5 separate regions of the Homo sapiens genome follow, and regions 2, 3, 4 and 5 are each linked to region 1. Evidence: promoter capture Hi-C in 16 types of primary human blood cells and fetal thymus (Javierre and others, 2016). All regions are on one chromosome and are shown on one strand. The core of a region is centred on a gene start or on the middle of the fragment in contact, and the rest is flanking DNA. Distances in the headings are between cores, read along the strand shown. Region 1 holds the start of MANSC1 (MANSC domain containing 1). Region 2 overlaps CREBL2 (cAMP responsive element binding protein like 2). Region 3 overlaps BCL2L14 (BCL2 like 14). Region 4 overlaps GPR19 (G protein-coupled receptor 19). Region 5 overlaps BCL2L14 (BCL2 like 14).

What was found. Contacts are between HindIII fragments. The CHiCAGO score rates a contact against its expected background, and 5 or more counts as called.
Region 2: a contact is called between a fragment that was not itself captured here and the fragment with the promoter of MANSC1 in region 1, in 8 of 17 cell types (neutrophils, total CD4 T cells, total B cells and 5 more). The highest score is 6.8, in neutrophils.
Region 3: a fragment that was not itself captured here is called in contact with the fragment with the promoter of MANSC1 in region 1 in 1 of 17 cell types (endothelial precursors); the score reaches 5.7 in endothelial precursors.
Region 4: a contact is called between a fragment that was not itself captured here and the fragment with the promoter of MANSC1 in region 1, in 12 of 17 cell types (monocytes, endothelial precursors, M1 macrophages and 9 more). The highest score is 7.9, in monocytes.
Region 5: a contact is called between a fragment that was not itself captured here and the fragment with the promoter of MANSC1 in region 1, in 3 of 17 cell types (endothelial precursors, M1 macrophages and megakaryocytes). The highest score is 8.7, in endothelial precursors.

Annotation. Positions count from the first base shown.
Region 1 is chr12:12,348,816-12,351,515 of GRCh38, reverse strand. MANSC1 (MANSC domain containing 1) reads left to right here and starts at 1,274. Exons shown (of 4, transcript NM_018050.4): 1 at 1,274-1,438. RefSeq lists a silencer at 964-1,273. The HindIII fragment of the contact is 5,175 bases long and covers 1-2,168 here.
Region 2 is chr12:12,627,039-12,629,738 of GRCh38, reverse strand. All of the region lies in intron 1 of CREBL2 (cAMP responsive element binding protein like 2), which reads right to left. Among named protein-coding and RNA genes, the nearest start is that of CREBL2, 17 kb to the right of the region's middle. The HindIII fragment of the contact is 3,664 bases long and covers 1-2,700 here.
Region 3 is chr12:12,090,858-12,093,557 of GRCh38, reverse strand. All of the region lies in intron 4 of BCL2L14 (BCL2 like 14), which reads right to left. Among named protein-coding and RNA genes, the nearest start is that of MIR1244-4, 20 kb to the left of the region's middle. The HindIII fragment of the contact is 4,089 bases long and covers 1-2,700 here.
Region 4 is chr12:12,660,794-12,663,493 of GRCh38, reverse strand. It overlaps GPR19 (G protein-coupled receptor 19), which reads left to right. Exons shown (of 4, transcript NM_006143.3): 4 at 1,024-2,604. The coding sequence starts at 1,046. The coding sequence ends at 2,293. Among named protein-coding and RNA genes, the nearest start is that of GPR19, 34 kb to the left of the region's middle. The HindIII fragment of the contact is 1,660 bases long and covers 591-2,250 here.
Region 5 is chr12:12,074,652-12,077,351 of GRCh38, reverse strand. All of the region lies in intron 1 of BCL2L14 (BCL2 like 14), which reads right to left. Among named protein-coding and RNA genes, the nearest start is that of BCL2L14, 5.1 kb to the right of the region's middle. The HindIII fragment of the contact is 4,952 bases long and covers 1-2,700 here.

The sequences.
Region 1 (2,700 bases), core at 25-2,524:
TGGATTACCCCATGTAGAGAGATTCAAAAACTGTGATAGCTCTACACCCTGAACCCTGAAGTGTATCAGATGATAAAAGATAAAACACACTTGCAGATCAGTCCCTTGTTGCATCAGGAAAATCACTGCAATGGGAAATTACTCTGGTGTTTACTTTTCTTTGGTAACTCTTTCAAACCTAGCTTTAGCAACATTGTAATTCAAGAGTCATCCTTTGGTTACAAGTAGAGTTAGTTTCACACAATGGACCTTTGTTCACAAGCATTCTCAGTCAACCTAATCCTCCTGTAGTTATTGGTTAAGACTAGGGTGTGTAGCTGTTGGCCGTACAGGCCTAGACTTAACTTGCAATTGCATAGCGCTTCAGGTCTGCAAGCTCTTTCAAAACAGAGGTGAAGATACTGTCAAAGGTTAGACCATATGGCAAACTAAGTGTCAATGGTTTAGTAACGTTGCATTTGTGTGTGTGTTTATGGAGGTGGGGATGGGGCCAGCAGTAATTTAGAAACTTCCACAACCTATGCCCTATGCAGTTCTTTTCCATTCATTCAGTCAACAAAAATATTTTAGTTAAATATTTACTGAGCACCTATTGTGTACCAGGCACTATGCTAAGTGTTAGGGATACAGTTTTAATATATGTTACAGACACCAGCATTTTCACCATTATTATCCTATCTACAAACAATAAATCCCGCAGAAAGCCAAATACCTTCCCTGAAGTTTGTCTTGCAGATAATATTTAACTCAAGAATTGCCATCTTTAATTGAGGACTCCATCCTCCAATTATGGAAAGAGGATTCTCAGAACTATGCCCCCAATAGGATGCACTATAAGCCCTTGAACATCAAAAAACTGCTCTCAGTGGTTGCCTCTGAGGAGGGAGACTAGGAGACTGGGGCACGGGGGTGAGGGGTAGACTTGTCTCTGTGTCTATTTTTGTACTGTTTGACATTTTCCCCATGTGCATTTATTTTAACTTGCGCGGGCCGCGAGGCAAGGCTCACCTGCAGACCCTCGGGCCACCAGCAGGGAGGCACGCACTCCCCCTCGCAGCGCGCCCAGCCCGGGGTCAGCGGTGTGGCTGAGCTGGGGGGGAGCGCGGGGCGGTGGGGGGAGCCACCTCCCTGCGGGGCTCAGCGCTGGGGCCGGGAGCCCGGAGCCTCCGCGGGGAGGGACGCGCTAATGTTGCCGGGAAGCAGCTCCGGGTTGCAGGGCAGGAACGTGCCCTTCCCCCGCGGCAAACTTGCCGTCGCTGCGACGGAAGCAGGAACTTGCTAACCACAAAACCCGCCAGGCCGGTGCGGGAGCTGCGGAGCATCCGCTGCGGTCCTCGCCGAGACCCCCGCGCGGATTCGCCGGTCCTTCCCGCGGGCGCGACAGAGCTGTCCTCGCACCTGGATGGCAGCAGGGGCGCCGGGGTCCTCTCGACGCCAGGTAAAGGGGTCTCCCCAATACCCACCCCCGACCGGCCGCAGGCGACGTCGCTACCTGCGGAGAGAGTCGGTCCCCTCCTTTCCAGGGGCCGAGGCTCCTTCACCCACACCCGAGCATCCAAAGGACCAGCTGGGGCCAATAAGGGCTGACCAGGATCCTTGAGTCGCTGCAGTATTCCAAAGGGGACCTCTAGGCGGGCTCAAGGCACCTGCCATAAATGGCTCTGGCTCTGCGTTGACATCAGAAGGAGAGGCAGAAGAATAGCTCAGTAGGCAACATGCATTTCCTCAAAGGAAGAGAAAATGTTCCCTGTTTTCTTGTCGTTGACTCTGTATTCATTATTGAAACTGCTAATTGTCTAATTCTCTGTAGAGTGTGTGTGTGTATACAGTTATAAGCATCTTGGTAAATTATAGTGTGCTGTAAGACGATTTCCAATATTTGAACTAATTACGTGCGAGTAAGTTTTAGCGACTCTTGTATGCAGACGTTAAAACTCAGGGGCATCCTCTCTCACCCGCCTGTATCCTTTTACCCCGTCTTTCAACAAGATTCAACTCGACTTCAGGCCCTTAAAGCCTAAATAATAATGGATTAGAAAACGTCGCTAACCTAATATTGCTGAGCCTCTTTAATGATATAAAACTCTTAAACACTTCTCTCAATGCTGCATACTGAAAACAACTCCTGCCCCATCTCCTTACATAGTTCAGGTTTCTTTGCAAAAGCTTGAAAAGAGGCTACATTAGAATCCATTCAAAATAAAGTATTGGCCTGGTTTTCTCTTGATTCCCTAGAGGCTTGCAAAATATGGCAGCGTATTAAGTACCTTGGCCAGAATTATTAACCTGGGGAGTCCACGATAAGGTATCCATGGATAGAATTCAGGATGTCTGTGAACTTGAGTGGAAAAAATTATTATTTCACCGACTTCTGAAATGGAATGTAGGCAAAAGCCACAGTAGTATTAGCAGTAGCTATGATTTGCCCCCTGTAAATATTGCCGATATCTTTATATCACATGACTTGTTGCACGTTTCAAAATATTATCTATACTCAATACCACGTCAAAATTATGGCAGTTATTAGATGACCACTTGTTACTTAATAGGTTAATAAAGAAGCACATATTATGTCCCACAACTTTTTGTAAGTTTTAACTAAAATGAGGATAATAATGGGATCTGTAAAGATTAAATGACATGATATATATAAAGTGCTTAGCATAGAAACTGGCATTTTAGACGCAATAAATGTTACTA
Region 2 (2,700 bases), core at 192-2,691, 280 kb before region 1:
CACAGCTAACATCTTACTAATGGTAGAATACTGAATGCTTTCCCCCAAAGATCATGAATAAGGCAACAATCTTGTCTTCTCTCATCACTTCTATTTAACACTGAACTACCAAGAAAAAATAGGAAGCATTCAGGGAAAGGAAAGGAAAAAGTAAAGCTATCTCCTTGAAGGTGACATGATTTTATATATAGAAAATCCAATCCAAAAGAATTCTTGCCCCCCTGAAAAAACCTATTAGAGCTACTAAATGAGTAGAGCAAGGGTCCAGGATACAAGATCAATATACAAAAATCAGTTGTGTTTCTACACACTATCAATGAACAATCTGAAAATGAAATTAAGAAAATGACTCCACTTACAGTAGCCTAAAAAAGAATACAATACTCAGGAATAAATTTAGCATAAGGAGTGTCAAATCTGTGCACTAAAAACCACAAAATATCATTAAAAGAAATTAAAGAAGATCTGATAAATGGAAAGGCAGCCCATGTTAGTGGGCTGGAAGATTTATTATTATTAAGAAAGGAATACTCCTCAAATTGATCTACAGTTTCAACAAAATTCCTATCAAAATCTCAGCTACCTTTTTGCTGAAATTGGCAGGCTAATCCTAAAGTTCACATGGAAATACGAGGGACCCAGAATAACCAAAACAATCTTGAAAAAGACGCAAATTGGAGGGCTCACACTTTCTGATTTCAGAATTTATTAGAAAGCTACAGTAATCAAGACAGTGTAATACTGGCACAAGGACAGACATACAGACCAATGGAAAAGCATAGAGAATCCAGAAATAAATCCTTACGTTTATGGTCAATTGATTTTTGACAAGGTGCCAAAGCAATTAAATGGGGAAAGAATAGTCTCTTCAATAAAGGGTGCTGGGACAGGTGGATAGCCACTTGCAAAATAATTAAGTTGGATCACTACCTCGTACCATATACAAAAATTAAAAATTGAACAAGCCGGGTGCAGTGGTTCACACTGTAATCCCAGCACTTTGGGAGGCTGGGGCGAGAGGATCTCTTGAGCCCAGGAGGTCAAGACTGCAGTGAAGCTGGGTTTGTGCCACTGCAGTCCGGCCTAGATGACAGAGTGAGACCCTGTCTCAAATTTAAAAAAAATAGAACAAAGGCCTAAATGTCAGAGATAAAACTATAAAACTTAGAGGAAAACAGAGGATTTACTCCTTATGACCTTGGATTAGGCAATGGTTTCTTAGATATGATAAGCACAAGCTACCAAACTGTATTTCAAGGATAATCAAGGTAAAAAGACAACCCACAGAATGGGAGAAAATATTTGTAAATCACAAATATGATAAGGGACTTGTATCTAGAATACATAAAGAACTCTTACAACTCAATAATAAAAAGACAACCCAATTTTAAAAAGGGGCAAGGATTTGGATAGACATTCCTCCAAAGAAGATATACAAATGCCAATAAGCAAATGAAAAAATACTCAACATCATTAGTCATCAGGGAAATGTGAATGAAAACCACAAAATATATCACTTTACACCCACTAGGATGTTTACATAATCAAAAAGATAGCCAATGCCAGGCATGGTGGCTTAGCCTGTAATCCCAGCACTTTGGGAGGCTGAGGTGGGCGGATCATAATGTCAAGAGATCAAGACCATCCTGGCCAACATAGTGAAACCCCATCTCTACTAAAAATAAAAAACAATTAGCTGGGCATGGTGGCGCGCGCCTGTAGGCCCAGCTACTCGGGAGGCTGAGGCAGGAGAATCGCTTGAACCCGGGAGTTGGAGGTTGCAGTGAGCCGAGATTGCACCACTCCATCCTGGCAACAAAGTGAGACTCCGTCTCAAAAAAAAAGACAACCAGTAACAAGTACTGGTGCAGATGTGGAGAAAGTGAAATCCTCATACATTGCTGTGGGAATGTAAAATGGTGCAGCCACTTTGGAAAACATTTTGGCAGTTCCTCAAAAAGTTAAACATAAAGTTTATAACCTAGCAATTCCAGCCCTAGGTATATTCCAAAAAGAAAGGAAAACATAGGTCCACATTAGAACTTGTATATCAATGTTCACAGCACCATTACTCATGATACCTAAAAAGCAGAAACAACCCAAATGTCCATCAACTGATGAATAGATAACAAAAAGTAGTATATCCATACAATGGAACATTATTCAGCTATAAAATGGAATGAAGTGCTGACACACGGTACAACACTGATAGCCTTGAAAGCATTATGCTAAGTGAAAGACAAATACAAAAGGCCACATATTGTATTATTCCAAATCTATAGAGACTTAAAGTAGATTAATGGTTGCTTAGGGCTGAGAAGGGAAGAAAAAATGGGGAGTGCCTGTTAATGGCCTCAGAGTTTCTTTTTTTCTTTTTTAAATCAATAGACTTTATTTTTTTACAGCTGTTTAGGTTTACGGGAAAATTAAGAAGAAAGTACAGGGAGTTCCTATACTATCCCCTCTCCACTCTCACAGTTTCCCTTATTATTAACATCTTTCATTAGTGTGGTACATTTATTATAATTGATGAACTAACATTGATTTATTATTAGTAACTGAAGTCCACAGTTTACATTAGAGTTCACTCTTGGTGTGGTATATTCTATGAATTTTGATAAGCAGTATCATACAGAATCGTCTCACTGCCCTAAAAACCCCCTGTGCTCCATCTATTCCTCCCTCTCTTCCTCCCTCTCC
Region 3 (2,700 bases), core at 86-2,585, 260 kb after region 1:
GCCTCCCAAAGTGCTGGGATTACAGGTGTGGGCCACTGTGCCCGTACCCAGCCTTCATTTTCTTAAGAAACTTTTATTATTATTGTTTTTTAGGGACAAGGCTTACTATATTGCCCAGGCTGGTCTCAAACTCCTGGCCTCAAGCGATCCTCCCACCTCGGCCTCCCCAGGAGCTGGGATTACAAGTGTGAGCCACTGTGCTTGGCCCTATACTATAGGGTAGTTGAACACTTTATAGTGCTGGACATAGAAGAGGTGCTTTGGAAATGCGAGTCATTTTTCAGGATGCTACGGGAGCATGGAGGTCAGGGAAGACTCCCTTGCATGCAATGTTCACTTAAAAAAACTCCAATTCATTGATTTCTTTCCCATTATTCTACCCTATTGATTTTACCTCCCGGCCTTCCCTTGAACCTGGTATCTCTCTGCTTTACCTCCTTTGAACTACCACGCCTTTAAAACAAAATCAATGCTGCCTCTTCTGCTTTTGAAAAATCAGGGCTCATATCAAAAAGCTATATATCATCTTCATTTAAAGCATTCTTGCAATGTCTGTTAATATGCTGGTTGTCATGTGAAAACGGAAATTTCTGAGTGAGCAGGGACAAAATATTTATTTGAAAATCCTCTAGTTCTGTCCTAGAGGAATGATAAGCCAAGCGGGTTTTCAACAAATATTGTTTCTAAAAGGGATATCTGGGGGATGAGTCAGATGCGATTGGGAGATTTTGGCAGACCTGTCTTTTCCCTGAACCACGCCCACCCCCACCGTCCAGGCCCCGTCTGGGTTGTGACTCTGCAGGAGGCATGGCCAGCCTCCTCCATAACAGGGAACAGACTCCTCTTCATCAGTTTCCCAATGGAGGAGGCCAGGCTCAAAACCCTAGCAGGCAGCCAAGTGGGGACTGTGCCAGAACAGTAAAAGAATCAAACGCCACAAAGACAGGGCTTCCACTGGCACCTCCTCACCCCTCCCCTGCCTGTCCCTCTCGGGTGCACCTGGCTCTTTGGCCTCTCCTGGAGGTGTAGGATGGGCCTTCGGGCTGTGTGTGCTCTTGGGACCAGCGGCTCTGCAGATCCCCTGCAGCCACACACACGGCACTCTGCAGTGGGAGCTTGGCACCCGCCCAGCACAAGGTCACACCTACCATGTGTCTCTAGCAGAGCTCCCTACTGGGGAAGCATGTAAAGGAAATAACAACCAAGGCTTTGCCATAAGCAATGTAAAATGTCCAAACTCCTTAAGAGAGAGCACCAGGCAAAGTGAGGTTTTTGAAAGTGGTAATTTGTGGGGGTGAAAATGAAACCATCGCTCTTCATAACCTGAGATCGGTGGCCTTCGTCCCACCTCCAGCACCCCCACTCCGCCTTTCCCACCTCCCTGACCAATGACCACAAGTCCCTGCTTAGGGAAGCTGGGAAGGAGGTTGCCGTGAGAGCCACAGAAACTCTGAGTTGTAAAGAGCCCTTGAGGTTGTCTAAAGGACCCCTCGGAGTTCTGTGCTGAAATGCTAACTGGTATTGGCACCTACTTGCAATTCTTCCCGTGACAGGAAGATCATTCTCTCACAAGGCACCCGTTGACTCTCATGGGCAGCCTGGAATGCCTATTCTCCAGGAATGGAGGTTCATTCTTACCATAAGGAGAAATCAATCACCCCATACTAGGCATAATTTGTGTATCCATGACACTAGCTCTGGAGAAATGCAGGGGTGCCCTTAAATCATGATCCTGTTCCATCTCTTGCTTCCTCTGCACCCCTCTCCACCCTCTACTTGTGGTCCCAAAGCTCACACACCCCGTTCTCTTTTCTTTAACCTAATATCCCTGGTTTTCTCGCTGTTTCTCATTCTGTCCCATCTCCCAGGTGCTTCGCCCTCTGGGTCACCAGCCTCTGGGCACACTTTTGACAAAGCTATAGACAGGAGCTGTTTGTCTTCCTGCAGAACCTCCCATCCCCACCCCCAGGGTCTGACTCCCTCCCCACAGATTCTGGAAAAACAAGGGTCTATGTCTGCAAGCCAGCCCCTGATTGACAGATTCTAGAGACTACTCAGTCGTCTGTGGGTTATGGACCCAGGAGGCATAGAGAAGCCCTTTTGACTCTGTTGAAGGTTTGCTCACCAACTGTTTACCTGAAGGCAACTCTCACCCGTTCCTGATTGGAAAGATGGGTCTCAACTTCCAAATGGCAGGAAATCCATACATTCTCCCAGTAACACTAGCGCACCTCCCTGGCTGAACTGCTAAGAGAGCCCTTAAACAGGCAACAGTCCAGCAACTACAGGGGAAAAAGATTCCAGAAAGTATTCCAGCTTTGGAGCAACTGTGGGACACAGATATCCAGGCTGCAAAGCAAATGCGAGTCTAAACTTCAATGAGGATCAGTTACATGGGGAATGAGATTAATAATTCCATCCAGCAAATTTTAATTTACTGGTGTCTTTTCTTGCAATAACAAGTTTCTTTTTTAGTTTCCAAAAATTCCAAGGAGGCTCCAGAAGGTTTACTTATGTTTTCCAAAGTGACTCATTTTTGAGATTCTACCAGCATGAAGAATTTTGACTCCAAGGGAAATAAAATTTAGGACTAAGTAGAAACCAGGACTTAGAAAGGGAATAAGGTTGCAACCTGGAATACAATTCCATTCTCGTGTACTAGTGCATGGGCACAGAAATCAATCGCATCAGTTCAAGGTG
Region 4 (2,700 bases), core at 171-2,670, 310 kb before region 1:
AGATTTGTAAGCTTTATAAGCTTTTAAAAAGTGCTTAGTAATTTTAAGTTACTTTTTTTTTTTTTGAGATAGGGTCTTGCTATGTTGCCCAGGCTGGATTCAAACTTCTGGACCAACTGATCCTCCTGCTTCAGCCTTCTGAGTAGCTGGGACTATAGGTGTTCCCCACTGTGCTTAGCTAACAGTTACATTTTTTTGTTGTTTTTAATCACCTGACTGCCATAAGGTCTCCCGTAACCTGGTTACATTTCTTAGAGGACATCTTGTATGTTCTTCAGTCAGTATTTTATGAAACAATAACAACAGAATAGCATCAAAATATATGTCACTGGTAGGTGGCAAGCTATTAGTGCATGAACTGTATCGTCTTTTAGAAAAAGCAAGCTATTTTCAGATGTCATTAAATTAGGAGCTATTTCTGGCTCATGTAGCAGTGTTGACTGCTCCATGTGTTACCATAATCCTTCTGTGATGGAAAATCTACACTAAGTAAGGACAGCACCCTTCCCAGTAGCTAGCCTGTCTACATTCACAGACTGCTGTTAGCTACTTCCATAGTCAAAATCTGTGTGTTTTCATCTGCCCAAGCTTTCCTCTTTTGCAACCTTAGGACAATTAGGAACTTCTCACATACTTGCCCAGAATTCCAGCAGATCTTCAGTTGGTGGTAACACCGTTACCATGAGCCAGATTTGAGATCCCTAATATTCTGTGATCCCTGATGAGTGAAGGGAACAAGGATATGTGTAGGAGGGGAGCTCGGTATGACTAAGGGTCAAGAGAAGGTGAGGCCAGAGAGAGCCTGAGCTGAGATCTGCTGAAACAGCTCCTAAAATGAAAACAAAGTTGGGGCCAGAATTTTTTCTGGATAGTAGTTATGTTTTCCTGCCAACGCTCAAGTCCTACACAAAGACAAATGACAATCAATGTAAATGTCAAATAAGATCGTTAGCCTGAGTAATCATAACCAATCTGTATGACACCTTTTTAACAGGAGGCCTCATTCTTCTTTTCCCCAACCAGAATTAAGAGAAAAAAAGTGAATATGGTTTTTGCTCACAGAATGGATAACAGCAAGCCACATTTGATTATTCCTACACTTCTGGTGCCCCTCCAAAACCGCAGCTGCACTGAAACAGCCACACCTCTGCCAAGCCAATACCTGATGGAATTAAGTGAGGAGCACAGTTGGATGAGCAACCAAACAGACCTTCACTATGTGCTGAAACCCGGGGAAGTGGCCACAGCCAGCATCTTCTTTGGGATTCTGTGGTTGTTTTCTATCTTCGGCAATTCCCTGGTTTGTTTGGTCATCCATAGGAGTAGGAGGACTCAGTCTACCACCAACTACTTTGTGGTCTCCATGGCATGTGCTGACCTTCTCATCAGCGTTGCCAGCACGCCTTTCGTCCTGCTCCAGTTCACCACTGGAAGGTGGACGCTGGGTAGTGCAACGTGCAAGGTTGTGCGATATTTTCAATATCTCACTCCAGGTGTCCAGATCTACGTTCTCCTCTCCATCTGCATAGACCGGTTCTACACCATCGTCTATCCTCTGAGCTTCAAGGTGTCCAGAGAAAAAGCCAAGAAAATGATTGCGGCATCGTGGGTCTTTGATGCAGGCTTTGTGACCCCTGTGCTCTTTTTCTATGGCTCCAACTGGGACAGTCATTGTAACTATTTCCTCCCCTCCTCTTGGGAAGGCACTGCCTACACTGTCATCCACTTCTTGGTGGGCTTTGTGATTCCATCTGTCCTCATAATTTTATTTTACCAAAAGGTCATAAAATATATTTGGAGAATAGGCACAGATGGCCGAACGGTGAGGAGGACAATGAACATTGTCCCTCGGACAAAAGTGAAAACTATCAAGATGTTCCTCATTTTAAATCTGTTGTTTTTGCTCTCCTGGCTGCCTTTTCATGTAGCTCAGCTATGGCACCCCCATGAACAAGACTATAAGAAAAGTTCCCTTGTTTTCACAGCTATCACATGGATATCCTTTAGTTCTTCAGCCTCTAAACCTACTCTGTATTCAATTTATAATGCCAATTTTCGGAGAGGGATGAAAGAGACTTTTTGCATGTCCTCTATGAAATGTTACCGAAGCAATGCCTATACTATCACAACAAGTTCAAGGATGGCCAAAAAAAACTACGTTGGCATTTCAGAAATCCCTTCCATGGCCAAAACTATTACCAAAGACTCGATCTATGACTCATTTGACAGAGAAGCCAAGGAAAAAAAGCTTGCTTGGCCCATTAACTCAAATCCACCAAATACTTTTGTCTAAGTTCTCATTCTTTCAATTGTTATGCACCAGAGATTAAAAAGCTTTAACTATAAAAACAGAAGCTATTTACATATTTGTTTTCACTCAACTTTCCAAGGGAAATGTTTTATTTTGTAAAATGCATTCATTTGTTTACTGTAGTTTTTGTGGGTTTTATTTTACTTGCTTTTTATGTTTTAGGAAAAGCGTTCACTTTGAACTTTAGCCAACAGTCCTTTTACTATTAATATATTAGTTACATGCATAAAAAAGAAAATGCTTTCTTACTATTTACTGTTGGTTCAAAAACATAAACCTAAGCCATACACACAGTCTTTGATTAATGATTCAATCTAGTTTTATTTTGTTTTCTTTTTCTCCTCCTTACTGAATTTTTATAACTATGGGCTTCAGTTCCAAATGAAATC
Region 5 (2,700 bases), core at 119-2,618, 270 kb after region 1:
CAGTCTGGTGCGAAACTCCTGGGCTCAAGTGATCCACCTGCCTCAGCCTCCCAAAGTGCTGAGATTACAGCCATGAGCTACCATGCCCGGCCTCAGGCTCTGTCTTAATATGGCTCTTAATAATGTTCCCTTCCCTTTCTGGTCCTAATTTAAGACGGTCTTTCGGCATGTAAGCTGCTGTGATGATAAAGAAGCTGCAGTAATATTAAGGGGACTGGCTGGCATGTTCCTCTTTTTCTTTCCACTGTACCTTGTCATACCAGGACCAAATGATAAAGAAATGGGACAGTAACTGCAGACAGGGTTTGAGGCAATGTGAGGTGGTACAGACAAGTTGGCCTGGGTGTCTGAAGGATGGATAGCCACGGCTGGCTCAGCTTCTAACCTGCAACATCCTTGGGCAAGTCACGCCACCTTTTTGTTCCTCGGTGTCCAAGTTGTTAGATAGAATAAGGATATTCTCTAACTTTTCCCCCTGGTTCTGCTATTGGAAGGAGGTGTAGGAGCTGAAATATCTCCCCTGAGGGCCTGCTGGATGCTGCCTTTTTCCATCACTGTCTCCTCTCCTTTACTTAGAAGAGGCTCACATTGGCTGATAGCGAAGCTGTTGATCTGAGGAACTGCTCCTTGGCCAGGCCCCAGGAAAGCAAGGGTCCCTGGCTAGGTGCGTTCTGATGGAAGTGAGCCTGGGAGGGATGCAGCGGGCTATGCTGCAACATCAGGTGATGCTGGAGGGGACAAAAATGGCCCTCCCAGTGCAGCAAAGGGCAAGTTGCAAAACCCACCAGACCAACTACACAGATACAATTATACAACTTCCAAGCCCCGCAAACCTCCCTCACATAACTGGATGTAAGCAAATGCTTGAGGAGTATGGCATGAAGTGGGGGTCATGACTGCAATCCTTCCTCCTCCTCTGCTGTTTCTTCACATTCCTGTCTTATTCCAGGGCTTGGACAATCTTTCTTCCCGCCACTGCTCCAATTTCACATTCACTTACATGCATTTCACTTACATGCAAATCGTTTGCTCTGTAAGGAGTCACGTCAGTGTCTCCTCGAAGGTCATGTTCCTTACTGCTTTTCCACTTACCCCTTCCCGCTCCCCAATTCCATCCAATCCCACCCTCCCCCATGCATTTTCCGGGCATCCCACCCTCCCCCATGCATTTTCCGGGCATCCCACCCTCCCCCATGCATTTTCCGGGCATCCCACCCTCCCCCATGCATTTTCCGGGCATCCCACCCTCCCCTCATCCATCCTGCAGCACAGCCCTGTCCATTCTGCTTGTACTGGACATCTGGTGACCCTATACTCACCCCAGCTCCACTTCCCTGTTCCCAATGACCAATCTTGGTCTCACTAAAGGTGAGACAACCATTATGTGTCTCCTGATCCAAAAACATTGGATCCGAATCTGATCAAGCCTCTGGATCTAATGATCAGTTTACAGGAAATACAGGGGACAGAGAAATAAACTAATGACCACAAGAAGGCAGCTATCCAAATTCAGTATCTGGTAAGTTCTGCAAGACAAATGGCCGGTTTCTTCAACAAATAAATGGCGCCAAAAAAAGGTGAAGACAGAGAACTGCTACAGCTTAAAAGAGACATAAGAAACATATCCGGCAGGGGACGATGGCTCACGCCTGTAATCCTAGCACTTTGGGAGGCCAAGGCGGGTAGTTCACCAGAGGTCGGGAGTTTGAGACCAGCCTGACCAACATGGAGAAACCCCGTCTCTACTAAAAATACAAAATTAGCCAGGCATGGTGGCACATGCCTGCAATCCCAGCTACTCGGGAGGCTGAGGCAGGAGAATCACTTGAACCCAGGAGGCGGAGGTTGCAGTGAGCCGAGATCACGCCATTGCATCCAGCCTGGGCAACAACAGCGAAACTCCGTCTCAAAAAAAAAAGAAAGAAAGAAAGAAAGAAAGAATAGAAACATATCAGGCAGGGCACAATCGTTCACGCCTGTAATCCCAGCACTTTGGGAGGCAGGAGTTCAAGAGCAGCCTGGCCAACGTGGTGAAACCCTGTCTCTAAAAAAAATACAAAAATTAGCTGGGCATGATGGCAGGTGCCTGTAATTCCAGTGAGTTGGGAGACTGCAACAGGAGAATCACTTGAACCTGGGAGGCAAAGGTTGCAGTGAGCGGGGATCGCGCCATTGCACTCCAGCCTGGGTGACACACGGAGACTCTGTCTCAAAAATAAATAAATAAATAAAAAGAAAAAAAAGAAACATATTAAAAAAAAAGAGACATCAATTAGATGTCATGAGTGGATCTTTATTAAATCGTAATTCAAACATACTGTATAAAGATGTAGATATCTTTGAGATGATAGAGAACTAAACACAGTACAGTGTATGTTTTAGATGATATTAAGGAAGTATTGATCATCTTGGCTGGCACCGTGGCTCACACCTGTAATCCCACCACCTTAGGAGGCCAAGGTGGGAGGATCACTTGAGACCTGGATTTGGAGACCAGTCTAGGCAACAAAGTAAGATCCCATCCCTATTTTTTAAAATTTAAAAATTAAAACATTTTTTAAAAAGATAATCTCATTAAATGTGGTAACATTGCCATTAAAAAGTACATATCTGGGCTGGGCGCGGTGGCTCACGCCTGTAATCCTAGCACTTTGGGAGGCCGAGGTGGGCAGATCACTTGAGGTCAGGAGTTCAAGACAA